7 separate regions of the Homo sapiens genome follow, and regions 1, 2, 3, 5, 6 and 7 are each linked to region 4. Evidence: promoter capture Hi-C in human tissues and cell types (Jung and others, 2019). All regions are on one chromosome and are shown on one strand. Each heading gives the region's core, a stretch centred on a gene start or on the middle of the fragment in contact. The rest is flanking DNA. Distances are from core to core; before and after follow the strand shown.

Region 1 (2,700 bases), core at 128-2,627, 430 kb after region 4:
CCCAGGAGTTCAAGACGAGCCTGGGCAACATAGCGAGATTCCCACCTGTACTAAAGAAAAAAAATTAGCTAGTGGTGCACAATTATAGTCTCAGGTTCTTGGGAGGCTGAGGCTGGAGGATTGCTTGAGCCCAGGAGTTCAAGGTTGCAGTGAACTATGGTTACACCACTGCACTCTACTGTACTCTAGCTTGGGTGACAGAGTGAAACCTTGCCTCTCTCTAAAAAAAAAAAAAAAAAGAAAAAGAAAAAAAGAAGAAGAAAAAGAAGAGTAGAAGAAGAAAAGAAAAGCCGGGAGAGCAACCATGGTTTTAATGTAGGTGATCACTTGCTGTATAGCATGGCTTAAATATCTTGAGACAAGATGACAGAGATTCTTCAAATTTAGGCAAGGAAATCAGGACTGATGCAGTAGACACTAAGGCTTGAAGATGGCTGTAACTTGCTGAAGGCAATCTGTGCTCCGATTCTGCATGCTTTCCTATTGTGGCAGAAGATAGTCAGTGGGCAATCAGCTTCCCTGGCTCTATGCTTAATGAGACATTAACTGCAAGCAATGTAGGGTGGGCATAAAGAAAGGCTTACTTAAAATGGATAACAGAAAGATTGTCATGTTGCCCCTCAGAATGAGACATTGATTACCCTAGACCTATGGATTGAACTGGAAACTGTTCTTTTATCGAGCGAGGTGGAGAAGTAACTTGAAGCTTTGGAAATGTGGACAAGGGCCTCTTGGGATATACCTGGTTGCTTGGAGTAGATCACTACACCCCACCATGTCCCCAGAGGGGTATATAAGGCTAGGGTGCAGCATTGTTGTCTTCAGCAAAATACATGGAGGTCTGGCAGAAGCAGAGATGCTCAGTGCATCCGGTTCTGTGAAAAGTTCTAAGAATATCACACATCAGAAGGTTGTCAGCCTAGTGTGACCAGGTGTCCAAAGTCAACTCAAAGCCAGCAGATAAAGGTGAACTTTCCTGTTTTCACTCTCAGACAAAAATGCACTGTGTGCTGCTCAGAACCAGCAGAGCCATGGGCAAGATGGGCCATATCCTGTTTAATGGTGGCCGCAGATATTTCCTGGCTGAGAGCTCAGGTCAGAGTTATATACGAGCATGCGATTATACACAGTACTCATTTATACACAAGCAGATGAGACTTTCTTTTCCTTTTTTCTCTTTTTGTGCCTCTTGTAAAATGTCACTTTTGATCTGGGGTTGAAAAATTGCCGGCTTCCAAAAGTTGGCCTACTTAGTCCCCAAGGGACATTTTTAAATGTTGAGGATATGCCTGTTGAAAATATTCCCTTTGCAAAATTGGAGGAGAGCTTCCTGCAGATTTCCACCGCCTTGCAGCAGCCCCGTCTTCTCCTAATGAAGAAATCACTTTTTACAATGTTCGTTATAAAATAGGGAATGGCTTGAATTATCTCTCTCTGCAGGGAGTTTCATTTATCTGGAATATTCAACCTAATTAGCTAGCCCAACTGGTCAAGACTCAAGTTGATAGCCAGGGGCAGTCTTAATACATTGAAAAAAAAAGTATACAGTAGCTCTTTAAGCAGATCCGTAGTGAATATTTGAATGCTTAATATATTTACTTGAACAAATAAAGAATACATAAATGACAGAGTTTCTAAACTCATCACCTGGAGATTGCGAGGGGTGATATTTCAAATTAGTACGGATGCATCTAGAAAGTTAGCCAAGGCATGTCAGTGTTTCCTCTTAAATGCATTATTTCGTGTGTGTGTGTTTTAAGTGGACACAATGATGTTTGTGCTGTCTTGTGGCCCAGCAAACACAAACCAGGGTATTATCTGGTTATCATGGGTGTGAAAATTCAAGTACGGGTCAGAGACTGAGCATCGGAAACAGTGAGCTGTTTCTTTGACAAGCGTTAACCAGCTTGCCAGGCTGGGACCCAGAAGCAAATGTTTCCACTCCCTTCACCGGATAGCCTGGAAAGATAACTATGCATCAGGTAGTTACTTAAGTGGAACCACTGGTGTAGGGTTACCAGAGTCTTTTCCTTTTAGTGCCCAAGGGCAAAGAGCATTGTTAATGACGCCTACACCGGAAAGTAGGTTAAGAGGCTTGACACCGAACTGTTGGCGGTATTACAGTTTAACACTTGGCGTCCTCTGACTCAATGTGTAGATGCCAGTTCATGCTTTGTAGCTTCACAGAAAACTGAAGTTTAGACATCTGTAGGTGGAAGGAGTGGAACTGATGAATCATCTGTAGAAAAAAAAATGAAATACATCTTTGTTTCTTTGAACTCAATAATACCCGGTGCCTGAAATGTGAATGTGTTAATTACAGAGATTTCAAAGCAAAACCATAGCTTGCAAAGGGTAAGTGTGTTTTTACTCAGCATATTAACAATACCTTTAGAGTAGGTGCTGTCATCTCCTGAACAAAGGAATGTTTATGGAATTGAATGACAACAATGCATGGGAAGCCAAATCATAACAGGCACAATCATAAAATGTCTTTCTATGATTACATTTAACAGATTATTCTCTTATCTGTCCCTTTATTAAGAAGATGCCATTTTCCCATGAGAGCCAAACACTGCATCCAAAAAAAAATACAACAAACAACCCTTTCCTGAAATGCATGCATAATTTTAGACAGAAAAAAAGAGAACCTTGAATCTCATTCTTTCCTACAATTAAACTCATACATTGTTTTAAATA
Region 2 (2,700 bases), core at 73-2,572, 410 kb after region 4:
GACACCTCCCAGTCAGTAAATCAATCATGCAGAAACAAGCCACGCATAGAAGTGTGTGGAAGAAGATGGTCAAAAATGAACTCCATGTATCCCTCATTTCCCTGGGTCATCACCCAACACTCTAAAGTTCAGCAGAGACTATCCAATGACTACAAGGAAGAAAAGAAACCAGCCTGTGTGTCTGAGTCAAGAGCTTTCAATTTTCATTTTACGCACAATGTTGTGCCGTATAGGCTTATTTCTGAGTTTTTCCAATTGCATGCCTTCTGATATCTCAGGCCAGCAACTTGACTTCATATGCACATCTTCTTTCTGCTATCGGCTTATGCAAACATGATTGAAAAGCTGAGCGTGATGGTTAATTTTTATATTTCAATTTGACTGAGCCATGGGGTGCCCAGACATTTGGCCAAACATTATTGTGTGTGTCTGTGAGAGTGTTTCTGGATGAGACTGACATTTGAATCGGTAGACTGAGTAAAGCAGGTTGCCCTCCCCATTGTGGGCACATCTCATCCAGACAATTGAAAATCTGAATAGAACAAAAAAGTTGAGTAAGAGGGTACCCCTTCTGCCTGACTGCTTGAGCTGGAACTTGCGTCTTTTCCAGCTTTCAGACTCAGACTGAAATTTTGGCCCTTCTTGAATCTCAAGCTTGTCAGCTTTCAGAGTTTAGCTACATATCAGCTCTCTTGAGTCTCCGGTTTTCTGACTACAGATCTTGGAACTGATTTCTTCGCCTCCATAATAGAGTAAGCCGTGGATAGTCATAGGCTGCCTAATGAAGTTTTGGTTAATGATGTATTGCATGTACAATGGTGGTCTCATAAGATTATACGATTCTATCTTTACTGTACATTTTCCATGTTTAGATATGTTTAGACACACAAACACTTACCATTGTGTTATAACTGCCTACAGTATTCAGTACAGTCCCATGCTGTGACAGGTTCGTAGCCTGGGAGTAATAGGCCATACCATAGAGCCTAGGTGTGTCGTGGGCGACACCATCTAAGTGTGGGTGAGTGCACTCTAGGATGTTTGCACAGCCTCAAAATCACCTAATAATACATTTTTCAGAATGTATCCCCATTACTAAGTGACACATGACTGTATATACACAGTATTTCTTTTGGTTATGTTTCTTCTGAGAATTCTAATACACTCAGGGAGATCTCTCTAGAAAAGGGTCAGGGTAATGGTAACAATGGTGCTGAGATCCAAGAAGTATTTGAAATTAACAAATATAGGAAGCTTGGAAGGAAGACAGTCCCCAGCAGAGGCAATGGCCAAGGTAAAGTCTTCAAGAGTGGAGGGAGGCTGGTGGAGGGAGGGACTGACAGGTCAGTGTGGCCTGAGTGAGGAGTAGAAGGGGACACTGGCATGAGATTGGCTGGAGATTCTGCATGCACCAGGCCACTCCAGGCCTAGGGAGGCTGATCGTATAGTTTGTCATCTTCCCGGGACACATCTGAGGGAAGAAGGTGCTATGAAAACCAAAATAACACTTTGAAACCAGAACTATTCTGCACAAATTGAGGCCCTCCCTTTCAGGCCATTAAGAGTTTGTAATTTATTCTACAATCAATAAGGGATTCACTGAAGTGTTCTAAGAAGAATTGTCACATGACCCTATTTGCATTTTAAACTCACCGTGGCTGCCATGTGAGGAATGGATTGAAGAAGGCGAGAAAAGATAAGGGCAGACCAGTGGGGACTAAATCTATTTAAGATTGCAACAGTGAAAGCATGCCTGAGTTTCCAGCCTGCTGCTCTGAGAATTTTAGACTCAAAATTGTACCATCAACTCTTACCTGAGTTTCTAACCTGCTAGTCTGCCCTGTGGATTTCAGACTTGCCAGCCCCTACAGTCACATGAGCCGATTTCTTAAAATCTCTCTCTCTCTCTCTCTCTCTCTAAGTTTGAGTAAGTAGTGTATGTAGGTATGTATTTACTATGTATGTATGTATTGTGGAGGAGGGAAAATGGTTCCCTCTACCTTTCTAGGTTCCTTGGCTGAGCTACAACTTAAATGGACACAAGACAGATCAACAGGAGCAAAACCATATTTATTACATATGTGAGCACAGGAGTCCCGCAAATATATGAGACTCCAAGAGAGGCCAGATGATTGAAGCTTATTTAATATCCTGAGCTACAGAAAGGAATAGGGGTTTGGCTTCCGAGGGGTGGTAGAGACAAGTTTATGGAAGGGCAAGGGGAGGAAAAGTATAGTGAATAAAATTTGTCTTGTTATGCAGGTAAGTCTTTCAGGTAATAAAAGCTGTAATGGAGCTGCTCCTTCTGATACAGATACTAATGCATATTTTCCTTATAGATGTAAATTTCTTTTACCAAAAAAAACAACTTTTCAGAGCTACTCTTGCGTCTGAAGTTTTTCAGAATAACCAGCTCCAAATATGCAAAATAAATATATATTGGGGTGGCATATCTGGTCTCCTATAGTCATATTTGGGATAGTATGTCCTGAGCCCAAACATTATATACACACACACACACACACACACACACACACACAACCATATGTGTACATATCCATATTATATATAGTATGTGTGTTTTGTATATATTGCAAAAGTTATCAGTATCAAAATGGAGTCACTGATGTCAAACCCTAATAAAATGGAGAGACAGGAAGACCTGAAGGAAGGGGCCCCTCACACAAGCCTATGACGGGG
Region 3 (2,700 bases), core at 75-2,574, 340 kb after region 4:
TGAGAGGAGCCCAGCCACATGAGAAAAGCAAACAAACAAAAATACCTCTGTGATGCTTGGATTTTATAAAGTGCTGATATCTGATGGTTAATCTGCCTGGCCCTGCCAGAGAGGACAGTGTTAAATTGCCTTCTATTCTTGGGAAACTTAACTTGTCATTGTTAAGCCTGCCTGCATGAGAGCCTTTGAAACAAAATCTGGATGTATAGAAAAGTTGTCTAGGTTCAGGTTAGGTGAACTCTGCAGCAGTGGAAGTGGCCTGAGGTTAAGTGAAGCGTCCCCAAGCCAAGTGAGCTCTAGAGAAATCTGCTAGCTGGAAGGCACAGTCAGAAGACCCTTCAAAGTCTACAGAGGGAAACTAGGGGCATCTTTCGGACCTAAGGCCCTTCTACCTTCCATAGACTCCGGGGAGGTGGTGTGAGACAATGGTGATGCGCATAGCCTTTGAATACATTCACACTTCAGCCAGCTGGTGGTACATGAGAGAATGGCTCCATCTCTTCAGCTTCAGTTTCCACATCCATAAAATGGAAACAATTATGGGACCTGCTATCTCATTGACTGAGAGAATTCTTGCATTATACATGGGGAGTGTTCAATGAACAATAGTTGCTATTATTTTAAAAATCACTGGTCTAATAGAATGTTTACAGGGAGCCAAAAGAAACTCATAGAATTGAGACTAACCATTTCATTTTAGAGAAGGGGCAGCTGAGACTCAAAGATGTTGCCTATGATGCCCCCACACACCCCTCAAGGTCATATGGCTAGTTGGAGGCAGAGCTACCAAAAGAACACCATTCTCCTAAACTCTGTGGTCTCCTTCCCTGTTTTTTTCAATTGCCACATCAAATCGAGGTTATAGTTTGAACCTGATAAACATATTATCTGACTTTACAAGAAGTTTCTACTTTAATTTTTTTTTTTGAGACAGGGTCTTGCCCTGTCACCCAAACTGGCACAATCATAGCTCCCTGCAGCCTCAACATGCTCAGGTGATCCTACCTCAGCCTACCAAGTAGCTGGGACTACAGGCATGTGCCATCACACCCAGGAAATTTTTAAAATCTCTTTCTTTTTTCTTTTCTTTTTTTGAGACAGAGTCTTGCTCTATCACCCAGGCTGGAGTGCAGTGGCATGATCTCAGCTCACTGCAACCTCTGCTTCCCGGGTTCAAGCAATTCTCCTGCCTCAGCCTCCTGAGTAGCCAGGATTACAGGTGCCCACCATCACACCCGCCTAATTTTTGCATTTTTAGTAGAGGTTTCGCCATGTGGGCCAGGCTGGTCTCGAACTCCTGGGCTCAAGAAACCTTCCCTCCTTGGCCTTCCAAAGTCCTGGGATTGCAGGAGTGAGCCACCACACCCAGCTAAGATTGTTCTGTGTATGTTTTTTAACATGTGTCTCAAGAAAGTTGCACCAAATGAGAAACCAACAAAAAACTGAAAACGAAAATAATAACACTAAATGAAAACAACCGTCAAAAGAAGAGATCTAATTGCAAATACCAGAACCCATGTCTCATACAGAAGATCCAGCGTCTTGTCATAATCACATCGTGCATAATATCAGAGTCTTCCTTCTCTGTCTCGTGAGGTGAGTGATCCCACGTGCATTCTAATGCATGTTTTATTTCTCCATTGATTTTAATTAAAAGGATATTGTCAAGGTTGCTAGGCATAAATATTGACTGCTTTTGACACTACAGTTGTCCCAGAGGGTCAGGCTTGCTTTTTCAAGCTTCTTGAATCTCTTTCAGTTCCTTGGAGTCTCTTTTTGGTATGTTGGAAATTTCAAAAAAAATGGAACTATTAGGGCATGCCTGATAGTTTTTTTTTTTTTTTTTTTTTTTTTTTAATGCAGGTTGAAAAAGAAAAGAAAGGCCTGGTAATTTGGAATAATCATACACAAGTTAAATCTTGGGTCTTGAGTTAGCAAGAATGGTTGCATGAGTGGTAAAAATTACTGAAAATTACTTCCTATTCAATCAGTTTGGTCAGTGTATATGCTGATATATCTCCAAAATATCATATAGACATCATTAGTGCTTTTAACAAACCAAAGAGATATGTTCTTTTAAAAGAGAATTTTACTAAAAGAGATTCCTAGTGTCCCAACCCCAAACCCTTCACCCAGGCCTGAGTTCCTTTGTAATTTCTAAATGATCACAGCTCCCTTGCCTAAGTAGGCTGTCAATTCAGCACTGATGAACATTTCTATCCGGGAACTGGAAGGGCTTGAGATGGTGCTGGCATTTCAGGGTTAATTCTAGCAGAGTCTAAAGCAGCAGGGGTTTAAAGAGGCCCAACAATATATCAGGAAGAGGTGGACTGCCGAGAATAAGTGGTGTAAAATGCATTATGAACATTCTCAGCAAAGAGAAATTGTCTTTTTCTTGTTGATAGTAGAAAATCAATACAGTTGTTTTCTGTTCAGTTTTCAAGGGCACAAGTTGCTGCTACTTCAGGCTTGAGAAGTTCATAGGGTGGTTAACGAAATGTCAGCAGTGATTGAGCAGTTCAAGCAAAATTGACATCCCTCTGCCATAAGTCTACCCTAAGTGAACTGGCAGCCACGGGGGATGGCAGAGCATCCCAGGGCCACAGGGAGCAGGTGGGTTAACGCGTCAAGCTAAAAGAATAATTGCTGGCCCCACACAACAGGTGGAAAGACAATTCACGTTGGTATTCTCCTTGGTTT
Region 4 (2,700 bases), core at 196-2,695:
TAGTGGGCTGAGGTGCCGATCAGGGTCACGCTTCGGAGCTCTGTCGGGGCCCAGCTCCCTCCTTCACACCCCAAAATGCCGCCTAGGGCGTGGGCATCCCGAGTGGCATCCGGAGCCGCTGAGACCCCGCCGAGATTGCTCCTTGTGCGTCCTCCCACAGCCGAGAGGCCAGCATCGTGCCGGGACGACCCGGGGACCCGAGTCCGGGCGCCGCTACACCGCCTCGGGCGCTAGGCCTGGGAGCTTTGAGGCCGGTACCGTGAAACACCTTTAGGAGCAAGGAGGGATTCCAGGTGTCCTCCCTTTGTACCCCAACTCCCTGCCCGGATCTCTTCCACTCTCTGCCATAGCCCCCACACACAAACTTTGTTCTGGACTTGTTCAGCCCCTTCGGGACCCACAGTTGTCGCCTCCATCGGAGAAAACAAGTGCCCCTGTTTCAGGGGGGATTCCACTCTGGCTGGCCACCCGCAAACCTGGAAAACTATTCTATGACTTCTTCCCTGACCCCCCTGGAAGTAGGGAGCACCACGATCCGCAGAGGGCGCATACCGACCAGAAAGATTTTGGGGGGCAGAGGGTGCAAGTGTTGTGGGAAGAGATGCGGAGATAAATTTTGCGAGCCAGACCCCGACACTTTCCCCGTCCGTTTGCACCGTCTCCGGAACAACTGGCGGCCAGCAGCACTCTCCACCCCGGCCGCAACCCCAGCGGGTCAGGCGCTGGCGCCCCGACACCAGTCCCCATCTTCTTGCAGCTCTGAACCTCCAAAGACACCCGGTTCTGCCTCGCAGGCCGAGGGGGAGTGTGCGTGGGGGCAGGGGGGCGCAGCGAACTCCCCCACGCTCGGAGTTCAGCCCAGCGCCCGAAGTAAACTTCCTTACCGCTGGCAGCAAGGCCGGGCGGCGGAGGCCGGGCCGGGTGCCCTGGGGCCGGCGCCGGGAGCGCTAGGGGCCCCGTGCGGTCAGGCCGGGGCGACCTCCACCCGCACCCACGCCTCATGGGGCTCCCGGGTCTTGGCCGCGGCTGGGATCCCCGGAAAAGCAGGGACGGAGAAGCCAGGCCGGCATGCCCGCCCTCCTTCCCCCGGGAGGACCCAACAACTCCGGAAAGATCCTGCCGGGAGATGTGCTCGCTTTCCCCGGGGCAGCGGGGGAAAGCCCAGCAAAGGCACATTGAAAATTAAAAAGAAAAAAAAAATTACGCCGAGTGGAAGAAGCAATCGGGGCCGCGGCGGCGGTGAGGTAGGGGGCGCGGGGGCCAGCCGCGTGTGAGTGGGTCCGAGTGTGCGTGAGTGTGAGTGCGTGTGTGTGTGTCCACGGCGCGGGCCGGAGCACTCACCATCTCGCCGGGGGAGCGAGGCCACTTCGGGGTCGGATTGGAAATGTTGAGGCTTCGCTTGCTTCCTCCGCGACATGCTGGCTCAAACATCAGCTGGGGCAGAATAAAAAATTACTAAAAAAAAATCTTCTCAAAATTACGGAAATCGAGCGGCGGCGGCGGCGGCGGCTCCCCCCGCCCGCCGGCCCGCCCGCCCCCTCCCCGGCTCCCCGGCCCCGGGCGCAGCGCGCATGTGTCCTGCTATAATTATGATTATCAATAATGCATTGCGATTAATCATAGAGGGGCTCTTTGAAAGGCGATTGGCACCGGGCCAGCGCTATTCAAACCCGCTCGCCTTAATCAATTAGTTCGTGATTTGCTGCAGACCCCTGTCTCTCCGCGCGCTGGCCCAATAAGCCGGCCGCGGGGCTGGCTCTGCGCGCCGCGCCGCCCGACACTGGGTTAACCCTCTTTGCGACCGCCCGGGACTCCGCGGCCCGGCCGCCGGGGGCCGGCCTCCTCTCCACTGCGGGCCCGGCGCCCCGGCAGGCGCCCCCCGCTCTCTCCCTCTCCCCTCCCTCTTCCCTCCCTCCTTCGCCCCCCCCCACAATCCCGGGCTGGGCCGACCCAAATTAGCATGCCCTCCCCGGAATTGAGCCGCCCCGGGTGGGGGGTGGGGCCGGGCGGCGAGGGCTGGGGACCCGGGCTGCCGGCGCGCTGCGAACTTCCCAACTCGGGGGCGAGGCGCGCCGGCCCGCGGGGGGAGGGAGTCCCGCGGCGGGATCAGGGGGGAGGGCGTCCCGTTTCGTGAGTGTTTCTTCGTTTCTTTAAGAGCTACCAGAAAGCAGCCCACCCCCACCCCCATTAAAAAAAAAAATAAGCGAGTGGGGAAGAGCCAGCCCCACGCCGGTCCGCCTCCCGCCCACGGCTCGGCCTCCCTCCCGCCTGGCTCGGCGCTCCTCCGCCCCGAGTTCTCCATCCCCTGGATCCCGGGCTCGCGGGGGCGCGGAGAAGAGGATCCAGGAAAGGTTTGGGAACCTGATGGGTTTGTGGCTGGGGGGAGGGGCAGTTCTCCCGCCACCCCATCCCCTCCCCGCCAGGGGCACTGATCCTCCAGCTTCTTGCTTGCTCCCTCGCTCCCTTTCTCTACCTCGGACATTCCCAGGACAATTAGGGCTGAAGTTTTCGGGAGAAGCAGCCCCGAGCCCGTGGGATAAGGGGGCGGCCCGGCTCCGCCCAGGACCCCTCCCGGACCTCCCCCCCGGCTGCCCCGGTTGGCTGCAGGGCGCGTCACTCCGCGGGGAGGCGGCGGCAGCGGTGGCGCCGCAGAGCCCCGGGCGGGCGGAGAGCGGGGACCGGCCTGGGCTCCGAGTTCAG
Region 5 (2,700 bases), core at 38-2,537, 480 kb after region 4:
TTTAAGTGTAAAATTCAGTGGCAGTAAGTACATTTACAAAGTTGTGCAGTCATCACCATTATCCATTTCCAGAACTTTATTATCATCCCTAACAGAAATTCTGCACCCATTAAACAATAACTCTCTATGCACTTGCCCTCGGCCCCTGATAACTTCCATTCTGCTTTCCATCTCTATGAATTTGCCTGTTCTAGATGCATCAGACCAGTAGGATCATACATGTGGCCTTTTGTGCTGGCTTCTTTCACTTAGCATCATGTTTTCAAGATTCATTCATGTTGTAGCTGGATGAGGACTGTATCCTTTTTTAAGACTGAATACTGTTCCATTATGTTTCTGTATCATTGGGTATATGTACACCACTGGGTATTCATTTTTAGCCAAGGCTGCATTGTGTGGGATATGATTCTTCAGGTTCACTCAACTACACGGTATCCATGTGGGAGCCACAGGCCAAGGCCTTTGTGCTTAGAGGGAAGTTAAAGGCAAGGAAGAAGTCCTCTGGTTCTGGACATATGCACCTTCATCCACCTTTGGATAAAATCAAGTGGTCCAAGCAATTTTTGGATCATACACTTACTTCTGTGTATGTTTGTAATGTCTTAGGGAGTGTATTAGTCCATTATCACACTGCTATAAAGAACTACCTGAGACCAGGAAATTTATGAAGAAAAGAGGTTTAATTGACCCACAGTTCTGCAAGGCTGGGGAGGCCTCAGGATATGTATAATCATGGCAGAAGGCAAAGAGGAAGCAAGGCACGTCTTTCCATGGAAGAGCAAGAGAGAGAGAGAGAGAGAGAGCAAAGGGGGAAGTGACACACTTTTAAACCATAGGATCTCATGAGAATCACTTACTATCACAAGAACAGCAAGGGGGAAATCCGCCCCCATGATCCAATCACCTCCCACCAAGCCCCTCCTCTGACAGGCAAGAATTACAACTTGACATGAGATTTGAGTGGGGGCACAGAGCTAAACCATATCAGGGAGCAAGCAAGTAATGGAACTTTTTAAGCATTTTCCTAAGTTTAGAGAAAATCTAGGAATCCTAGAGATAAAAGCTTTCTTCACAGAGAAATATCTATAAGACATTTCAAATAGAGATGACTCCATCAATTTCCTCCACCTAAGCTCTTTGAGTGTATGTAAGAAAATATATTCCTCTGCATTGGTAGTGACTATATATACATTGGATATATGTTATCAAATTGTGGTACTGTGATTAAAGTAATCTAAACTAGAAAAGTGTTAACCAAAAGCAACGTTCTTTAAACAATGTTTATTGAGTACATTAGTCCCATGCTAGGCTAATGTACAGAAAATATGGATATGGACATGGTATATTTCTTTTTTTCTTTTCTTTTTTTTTTTTTTTGAGACAGAGCCTTGCTCTGTCACCCAGGCTGGAGTGCAGTGGCATGATCTCGGCTCACTGCAAGCTCCGCCTCCCAGGTTCGCCCCATTCTCCTGCCTCAGCCTCTGGAGCAGCTGGGACTACAAGTGCCCACCACCACGCCCAGCTAACTTTTTGTATTTTTAGTAGAGACGGGGTTTCATCGTGTTAGCCAGGATGGTCTCGATCTCCTGACCTCGTGATCCACCCGCCTCGGCCTCCCAGAGTGCTGGGATTACAGGTATGAGCCACTGCGCCTGGCCTGGACATGGTATATTTCATGACATCAAGAAACGTTAATTCTTGTGCCTCAATTTCCAAACTGTGCACCAAGGCACCCAGTATGCTGCAGTGAATTCACACGAGGACTGTCTGATGTTTTAAATTTTTGAGGAAAACACAGTAACATTTGTCAGACACTGTGCAAACTACTAGCTTGAGGTAGTTTTAACTTATTTTTAACATTAGATCACAGTATATTTTTCTGGATGATAGCCTATCTTTAGGCCAGGTGCGGTGGCTTAAGCCTGTAATCCCAGCACTTTGGGAGGCTGAGGTGGGTGGATCACGACGTCAGGAGTTCAAGACTAGCCTGGCCAACATGGTGAAACCCCGTCTCTACTAAAAATACAAAAATTAGCCAGATATGGTGGTAGTAGCCTGTAATCTCAGCTACTCAGAAGGCTGAGGCAGAGAATTGCTTGAACCTGGGAGGTAGAGGTTGCCGTGAGCTGAGATCACGCCACTGCACTCCAGCCTGGGAGACAGAGCGAGACTCCATCTCAAATAAATAAATAAATAAATAAATAAAATAAGATAGTTTACCTTTGTGAGGCTCGGTTTTCAGAGGTTGTGTTAAAAAGCAAGAACCATGTGAAGATCAGTGTGGAACAGGAAATGGTGGTGGTGTCCAATCTGATGTTAAGACTTGACACATTGCAGACATCTCATTAGTAATTCTGAATATTGGAGAATAAAATAAACAGATTTTTTTCTTACAAATGTGTAATTTTAAAAAATGCCCATTAAGTTTTTTGGACGTTCATACTTGTTGAGTTGTTTGGCCCTGACTACTTACTAAAGGGAACTGATGGGTAATTCTTTTGAACTAGGAGCACTATGAAGAAATTACTGAGCCACTTAGGGCACTATGAATTGAGAAAGTTGTTGAACCTCTGATCTTGTGAATCAAGCATGCTACTCATGTTGAATATGAACACTTTTTAAATTAAACAAAAGCAAAGACAAAGGCTATATGGTATGTAAACAATGCAGCAACCAGCAATGTCACTGCTGTTATAATTC
Region 6 (2,700 bases), core at 145-2,644, 460 kb after region 4:
TCGTGACATTCAGTGTAGTAAATTACTTTTCCTTTTCACCAGGGAATTCCAGGTGTTTTCTCAGAAAGTTGGCTTTTTCTGTGCCTCACTCTGTCCCATAGGCCAGAGTACAGTGGCATGATCATAGCTGACTGCAGCCTCAAACTCCTTGGCTCAAGCAATCCTCCTGCCTCAGCCTCCTAAAGTGCTAGGGTTACAGACATGAGTCACCACACCTGGCCATTCTCACAAAGTTTTAAACAGTTTCCATCTCTCCTACTTCCTAATTTGGCAATGGTGCTGTGTCATGTGTTCACATTTATTTATTTTGTCAATACATTCCCTGAGCCATTGAACCATTTTTTCCATCCTGTTCCATCATTGTGGACACTCTTGTACCTGAGTATCACACCTCACAGTAAGAGCTACTGTCTGTAGAGTACTTTCAGGTGCTACGTTTAGACACATTATGTGCCTTTTCATTAGGACATCAGGGCAAGCCTTCAAAGTAACCTTTAATAACAAGTTGTATGAATGAGGAACTAAGCATAGGAAACAACAGATCACATGACCAGGGCCATGCAACTAATAATGGACAGAAGAGGTAAATGGGCCTCGAACTTTCTAATTCCAAAGAATTTCTACTCTTCTATGCTGCCTCTTAGCTTCTACTCTTATTTCTATTTTCTGCAGACCACCTCTTCTCTTAACACCCTGACTTTTTTGTTCAGCTCCCTTTTCCCCTGCCTGGTGTGAAATAGCTACCTATAACTTTTCAGCTGAAAACTCTCTGAAGGCAAAGTGTTCCTGTGCTTCTCAAGATACATTGCCAATCATTTTTGCTAGCTCGGGCTTCTCTCCTCAGCCTGTAACATGATTCAATTTGTTCGCAGTGTTCCCTCTGTAATAGTTAATAGCATTTATTGAGTTCTTCCCATGCGCCAGACATTCTGCTAAATGTTCTCCATGAATTATCTGAATGTAGCCTTAAAACCACTCTGTGGGGGTAATCACCATGATCATCATCTCCACTTTATAGGTGGAAAAACTGAAGCTTCATTATCCTGCCCAAGGAGACCAGCTTGTCAGTCATCAGCTGATCTTGTAATCCAGGCCTTCCATCTTCAAAGCTGCTCCTTCTCATGGTTTTGATACTCTGCTGGGGGCGCACTGTGAGGGTGGAAGAATCACCCACATGGAGTGAGAAGTGCCTGCTAGTGCTGGCAGTTCTAAACCAAATGTAGTTTCTTTCCCTTATTTTTCCCCCAAGTACTTCAAACAAATTCCGATGAAGAGGGATTCCAATCTAGCACCACGTGGCCTCTTGTTTTCATATGTGATTGAATGTTCAAATTTGTTCAAAATTCTTTTTATGGAAAACTGTTTTCGAATAGTATAATTTTCAAAAGTTCTCAATGGAGTGGGGAAATTGGATCGGCACATCACCTGCATTTATTTTCTTTTCCCAGGCAATTTTGAAAGGACTGTAAAAGATCTTTTTTTTTAAAAAAAAAGTTAATCTTCAAAATTCTTCTGGGACATATAATCCTGAAGTGAGCTTAACTGCAACCAATACTGAGTTTTCATTTTTTCACAAGCAAACAAAAACAACCACCAAAAAGATAATTTACCAGTGTAAATTCCTTTCTGTTGATCTCTTTTTTATATAAACATATTTTTGGATGTTTTGCTTTAGTCATATGAAGTTTGGAGATCTAAGTTTTGAAGGGATGTGGATCTTTTTACACACCATAAGAAGATTATAGAGAACGGGGTTTGATAATACCGCCTAATTTGCACTAACCTGTAGTGTCATTTTAAGTTTGTTGCATTTTTTGGGAGTGTGCTTAAATAAGGCACCCCCCAGAGCCCTGCTTGAAAGTATTAATATATCTGAATATAAGAGCAAATCTAATTTCTTAAATTTCTTTAAAAAAAACTGAAGCTGTCAAATGAGCACATTAATCAACCAACTTCCAAATTATCACATTTTAAAGGTGTCTTGAAAGCTTAAGCAACCTCTAGTATAAATATTACATAGGTATTTCTTATTAATTTAAACGAGCAAATTTGATAAGATGCAAAATTTCGTGAGCTTTAATTTTTGTCTTCTAGTGACTGACAAAGAGAAAACTAACTAGCCGCTTTGTAATCACGCATTGCTATTGCATTCTTACAAAACTTGATTTAGAAGCAAACAAAGCCTTGAAAATATGTTTACTTAAAAATCATCCATGGCCATTTTTCTTACAAGATTCAACCAGAATCTTGGTCAAAATGTCAAGATTTTTGTTCCTTTCTTTTTATTTTTAAAAAATTATTTATGTCCCTTATTTGACTGGAATCAGTAAAAGGTAGTAGATAGTTGTTAGGAAACACAGCCATGAAAATGAATGCTGAGCAGGCATTTGGCCCCAAAATTCTGTTATATCAGAAAAGTACCTTAAGCCAATGAAATGGCACATGAATCTCTTTCCTTTGCTCACTGATTCTTACAGCAGAAAGGAATGGCCTATCCACGAATAGTTCCTCTGTCATCTTCAAATGAGATCCTATGTTGGCCAGGAGCATTATCTGTCACCTAGGAACCTCAGTGTTCAGATCTGGAAAAAAAAAATTAATTAAGGGTCTTGATATAATACCTGCTGAAATTCTTTGGGACTTAAGCATTTTATAGGTAACGTTTTAATAAACAGGCCAAAACATAGCAAGAAGACCAGG
Region 7 (2,700 bases), core at 154-2,653, 360 kb after region 4:
TCACCATTATTCCCCCAAATTAGATTTTACTTCATTGTCTCCTTTTCTATAAACTTCCCCCAGACTCTAAGAGTTTATAATTTGTGTTCTGAAGTATTTGACGTTGAACACGATGCTATAAATAATCCACCGCTCTGAGCATGTTCAATAAGACTTACAACACTATTATTATGACTACACTTAGGCATTTACAAATTTGCCTTGAAATAGAGATTTATCAGGGGTTTCAGCTGCTCAGTGATGGAACAATATTAATGTCTTCACAAGGACAAATGAGTTAATCCAATCTTTCTATATGCTTGGAGACTGGCGATCTCAGTTTGGACAGCTGGGTTTCTAGATACAGTAACTTCTCTGTTACATGGAAAGGCTGGGGGATGGGCTGTTTTCATTTTGTGTGTGTGTGTGTGTGTGTGTGTGTGTTTGTATGTTATAATTGTTATACAGGGCTTGAGGTTGCAGAGAAAAAAGCCACTGAGATAGGCTTTCCATTTAGTCTGAGGTGCAGATATTCGAAGAATATCTGCAGGAAAAGGGGCAGAAGTGTGGACCCTAAAGGAACATCATCAGCTCCGCAGTCTTGTCCACACAAAGCCGTATTTTCCTCAGTGAACTCGTTAGGGAAGGCACCCTAGTAGTTGGAGAGTGGACTTTGGAGTCAACCTCATCTGGGTTTGAATCCCAGCTCCAAGCTTAGAGGGCTTGAGCATTTACAAAAATTATGTAGGCTGGATGCAGTGGCTGGTGCCTGTAATCCCAGCATTTTGGAAACTGAAGTGGGACGATTGCTTGAGACCAAGAAGTTCAAGATCAGCCTGGGCAACATAGCAAGACCCTATCTCTATAAAACTTAAAAAAAAAATCATCCAGGTGAGTTGGTGCATGCCTGTAGTCCTACCTACTGGGAGGCTGATGCAAGAAGTTTGCTGGAGGTGAGAGGTTGGAAGCTGCAGTGACCTATGATTATGCCAATGCACACCAACCTGGGTGACACAGTGGGACCCCATTTCTAAACTAAATAAAGAAAAATAAAGAAATAAAAAATAAAAAAATTATTTGCACATTTATTTTATCCACTGGTTCACTTACGGTTTTGGGTCACATTCCATAAAAGTGGAGACTGAGAGAAGAATTAAAAAGTCCTTTTTTAATTGAGGGAGGGACTGCTCTTAGGAGAAACCTGAGAGGGAGAGAAGAACACCAGATAGGGGAGAGGCAAGAGCTGAGCAAGGATGTGCCAGGTAAGGTCTAAATTTGGCCTGATCAGTGTGGGATGCTGGAGCATGTGTCCCAACACAGGCATCCTTGCATTGTGGCAGCAAAGTGCCAGCCCTTTCTAAAAGTTGTCACATAATAGCAAACAAATGGAATCAACCTAGGTGCTCATCAATGGTGGATTGGATAAAGAAAATGTGACACATATACACCATGGAATACTATGCAGCCATAAAAAGGAATGAAATAACATCCTTTGCAGCAACATGGATGCAGCTAGAGGCTGTTATCCTAAGCAAATTAATGCAGAAACAGAAAACCAAATACCACATGTTTGCACTTGTAAGTAGGGGCTAAACACTGGGTACAAATGGACACCAAGTTAGGACAACAGATACAAGGGATTCTTTTCTTCTTTCTGTTTTTTTTTTTTTTTTTTTGAGATGGAGTCTGGCTCTGTTGCCCAGGCTGGAGGGCAGTGGCACAATCTCGGCTCACTGCAACCTCCACCTCCTGGGTTCAAGTGATTCTCCTGCCTCAGCCTCCCAAGTAGCTGGGACTACAGGCGTGTGCCACCACACCTGGCTAATTTTTTGTATTTTTAGTAGAGACAGGGTTTCACCATGTTAGCCAGGATGGTCTCGATCTCCTGACCTCGTGATCCACCACCTCAGCCTCCCAAAGGGCTGGGATTACAGGCATGAGCCACTGCGCCCGGCTGATACTAGGGATTCGAAAAGGGGGAAGGGGAGGAGGGGAAAAAGGGTTAAAAACTACACATCTGGAACTAGGTTTGCTGCTTGGGCAACAGGATCATTAGAAACCCAAACTTCAGCGACACACAACATACCCATGTAACAAACTTGCACAGGTGCTCCCTGAATCTAAAACAAAAACTTTTAAAAAAAGCAATACAAATTGTGATAAAATATACATAAGATAAAATACCATTTTAACAATTTTAAAGTGTGCAATTGACTAGTATTAGGTACATTCACAATGTTGTGCAACCAGCACCACTATCTAATTTCGGTACTTTTTCTTCACCCTAAAAGGAAACCCTGTATCCATTAGTTTTCACTCCCATTCTCTCCTCCCCTCAGCCCCTGGCAACCACTCATCTGCTTTCTGTCCCTATGGATTTGCATATGTACTCATTTCTTTTTAAGACTGAATAGTATTTCATTGCATGCATATACCACTTTTTTTTTTTTTTTTTTGAGACAGTCTCACTCTGTCTCCCAGGCTGGAGTGCAGTGGTGCGATCTCAGCTCACTGCAGCTTCCACCTCCTGGGTTCAAGTGATTCTCATGCCTCAGCCTCCTGAGTAGCTGGAATTACAGGTGTGCACCACCACACCCGGCTATTTTTGTATTTTTAGTAGAGATAGGGTTTCACCATGTTGACCAGGCTGATCTTGAACTCCTGACCTCAAGTGATCTGCCTTCCTCAGCCTCCAAAGTGTGAGGATTTTAGGTGCGAGCC

What was found. The method cuts DNA at HindIII sites, captures the fragments that hold promoters and counts their contacts. A contact is called where the count stands out against the background at its distance.
Region 1: a fragment that was not itself captured here is called in contact with the fragment with the promoter of SALL1 in region 4 in 6 of the 25 tissues and cell types used here (aorta, bladder, dorsolateral prefrontal cortex and 3 more).
Region 2: a contact is called between a fragment that was not itself captured here and the fragment with the promoter of SALL1 in region 4, in 5 of the 25 tissues and cell types used here (IMR-90 fibroblasts, heart left ventricle, hippocampus and 2 more).
Region 3: a contact is called between a fragment that was not itself captured here and the fragment with the promoter of SALL1 in region 4, in 3 of the 25 tissues and cell types used here (H1 embryonic stem cells, mesendoderm cells and pancreas).
Region 5: a contact is called between a fragment that was not itself captured here and the fragment with the promoter of SALL1 in region 4, in 4 of the 25 tissues and cell types used here (dorsolateral prefrontal cortex, heart left ventricle, mesendoderm cells and 1 more).
Region 6: a fragment that was not itself captured here is called in contact with the fragment with the promoter of SALL1 in region 4 in 4 of the 25 tissues and cell types used here (H1 embryonic stem cells, dorsolateral prefrontal cortex, heart left ventricle and 1 more).
Region 7: a contact is called between a fragment that was not itself captured here and the fragment with the promoter of SALL1 in region 4, in 2 of the 25 tissues and cell types used here (dorsolateral prefrontal cortex and mesendoderm cells).

The regions. Positions count from the first base shown.
Region 1 is chr16:51,575,744-51,578,443 of GRCh38, forward strand. No RefSeq gene overlaps it. Among named protein-coding and RNA genes, the nearest start is that of HNRNPA1L3, 69 kb to the right of the region's middle. RefSeq lists an enhancer at 1,397-2,596. The HindIII fragment of the contact is 6,997 bases long and covers 1-2,700 here.
Region 2 is chr16:51,558,445-51,561,144 of GRCh38, forward strand. No RefSeq gene overlaps it. Among named protein-coding and RNA genes, the nearest start is that of HNRNPA1L3, 86 kb to the right of the region's middle. The HindIII fragment of the contact is 4,980 bases long and covers 1-2,700 here.
Region 3 is chr16:51,491,095-51,493,794 of GRCh38, forward strand. All of the region lies in intron 2 of LOC102723323 (a long non-coding RNA gene), which reads right to left. Among named protein-coding and RNA genes, the nearest start is that of HNRNPA1L3, 150 kb to the right of the region's middle. The HindIII fragment of the contact is 5,159 bases long and covers 1-2,700 here.
Region 4 is chr16:51,149,825-51,152,524 of GRCh38, forward strand. It overlaps SALL1 (spalt like transcription factor 1), which reads right to left and starts at 1,446. Exons shown (of 3, transcript NM_002968.3): 1 at 1,342-1,446. The coding sequence starts at 1,417. RefSeq lists an enhancer at 643-1,143. The HindIII fragment of the contact is 9,229 bases long and covers 1-2,700 here.
Region 5 is chr16:51,631,738-51,634,437 of GRCh38, forward strand. LOC107984892 (a long non-coding RNA gene) reads right to left here and starts at 2,376. Exons shown (of 3, transcript XR_001752181.1): 1 at 2,221-2,376. The HindIII fragment of the contact is 6,440 bases long and covers 1-2,700 here.
Region 6 is chr16:51,612,168-51,614,867 of GRCh38, forward strand. No RefSeq gene overlaps it. Among named protein-coding and RNA genes, the nearest start is that of HNRNPA1L3, 32 kb to the right of the region's middle. The HindIII fragment of the contact is 3,771 bases long and covers 1-2,700 here.
Region 7 is chr16:51,510,244-51,512,943 of GRCh38, forward strand. All of the region lies in intron 1 of LOC102723323 (a long non-coding RNA gene), which reads right to left. Among named protein-coding and RNA genes, the nearest start is that of HNRNPA1L3, 130 kb to the right of the region's middle. The HindIII fragment of the contact is 4,324 bases long and covers 1-2,700 here.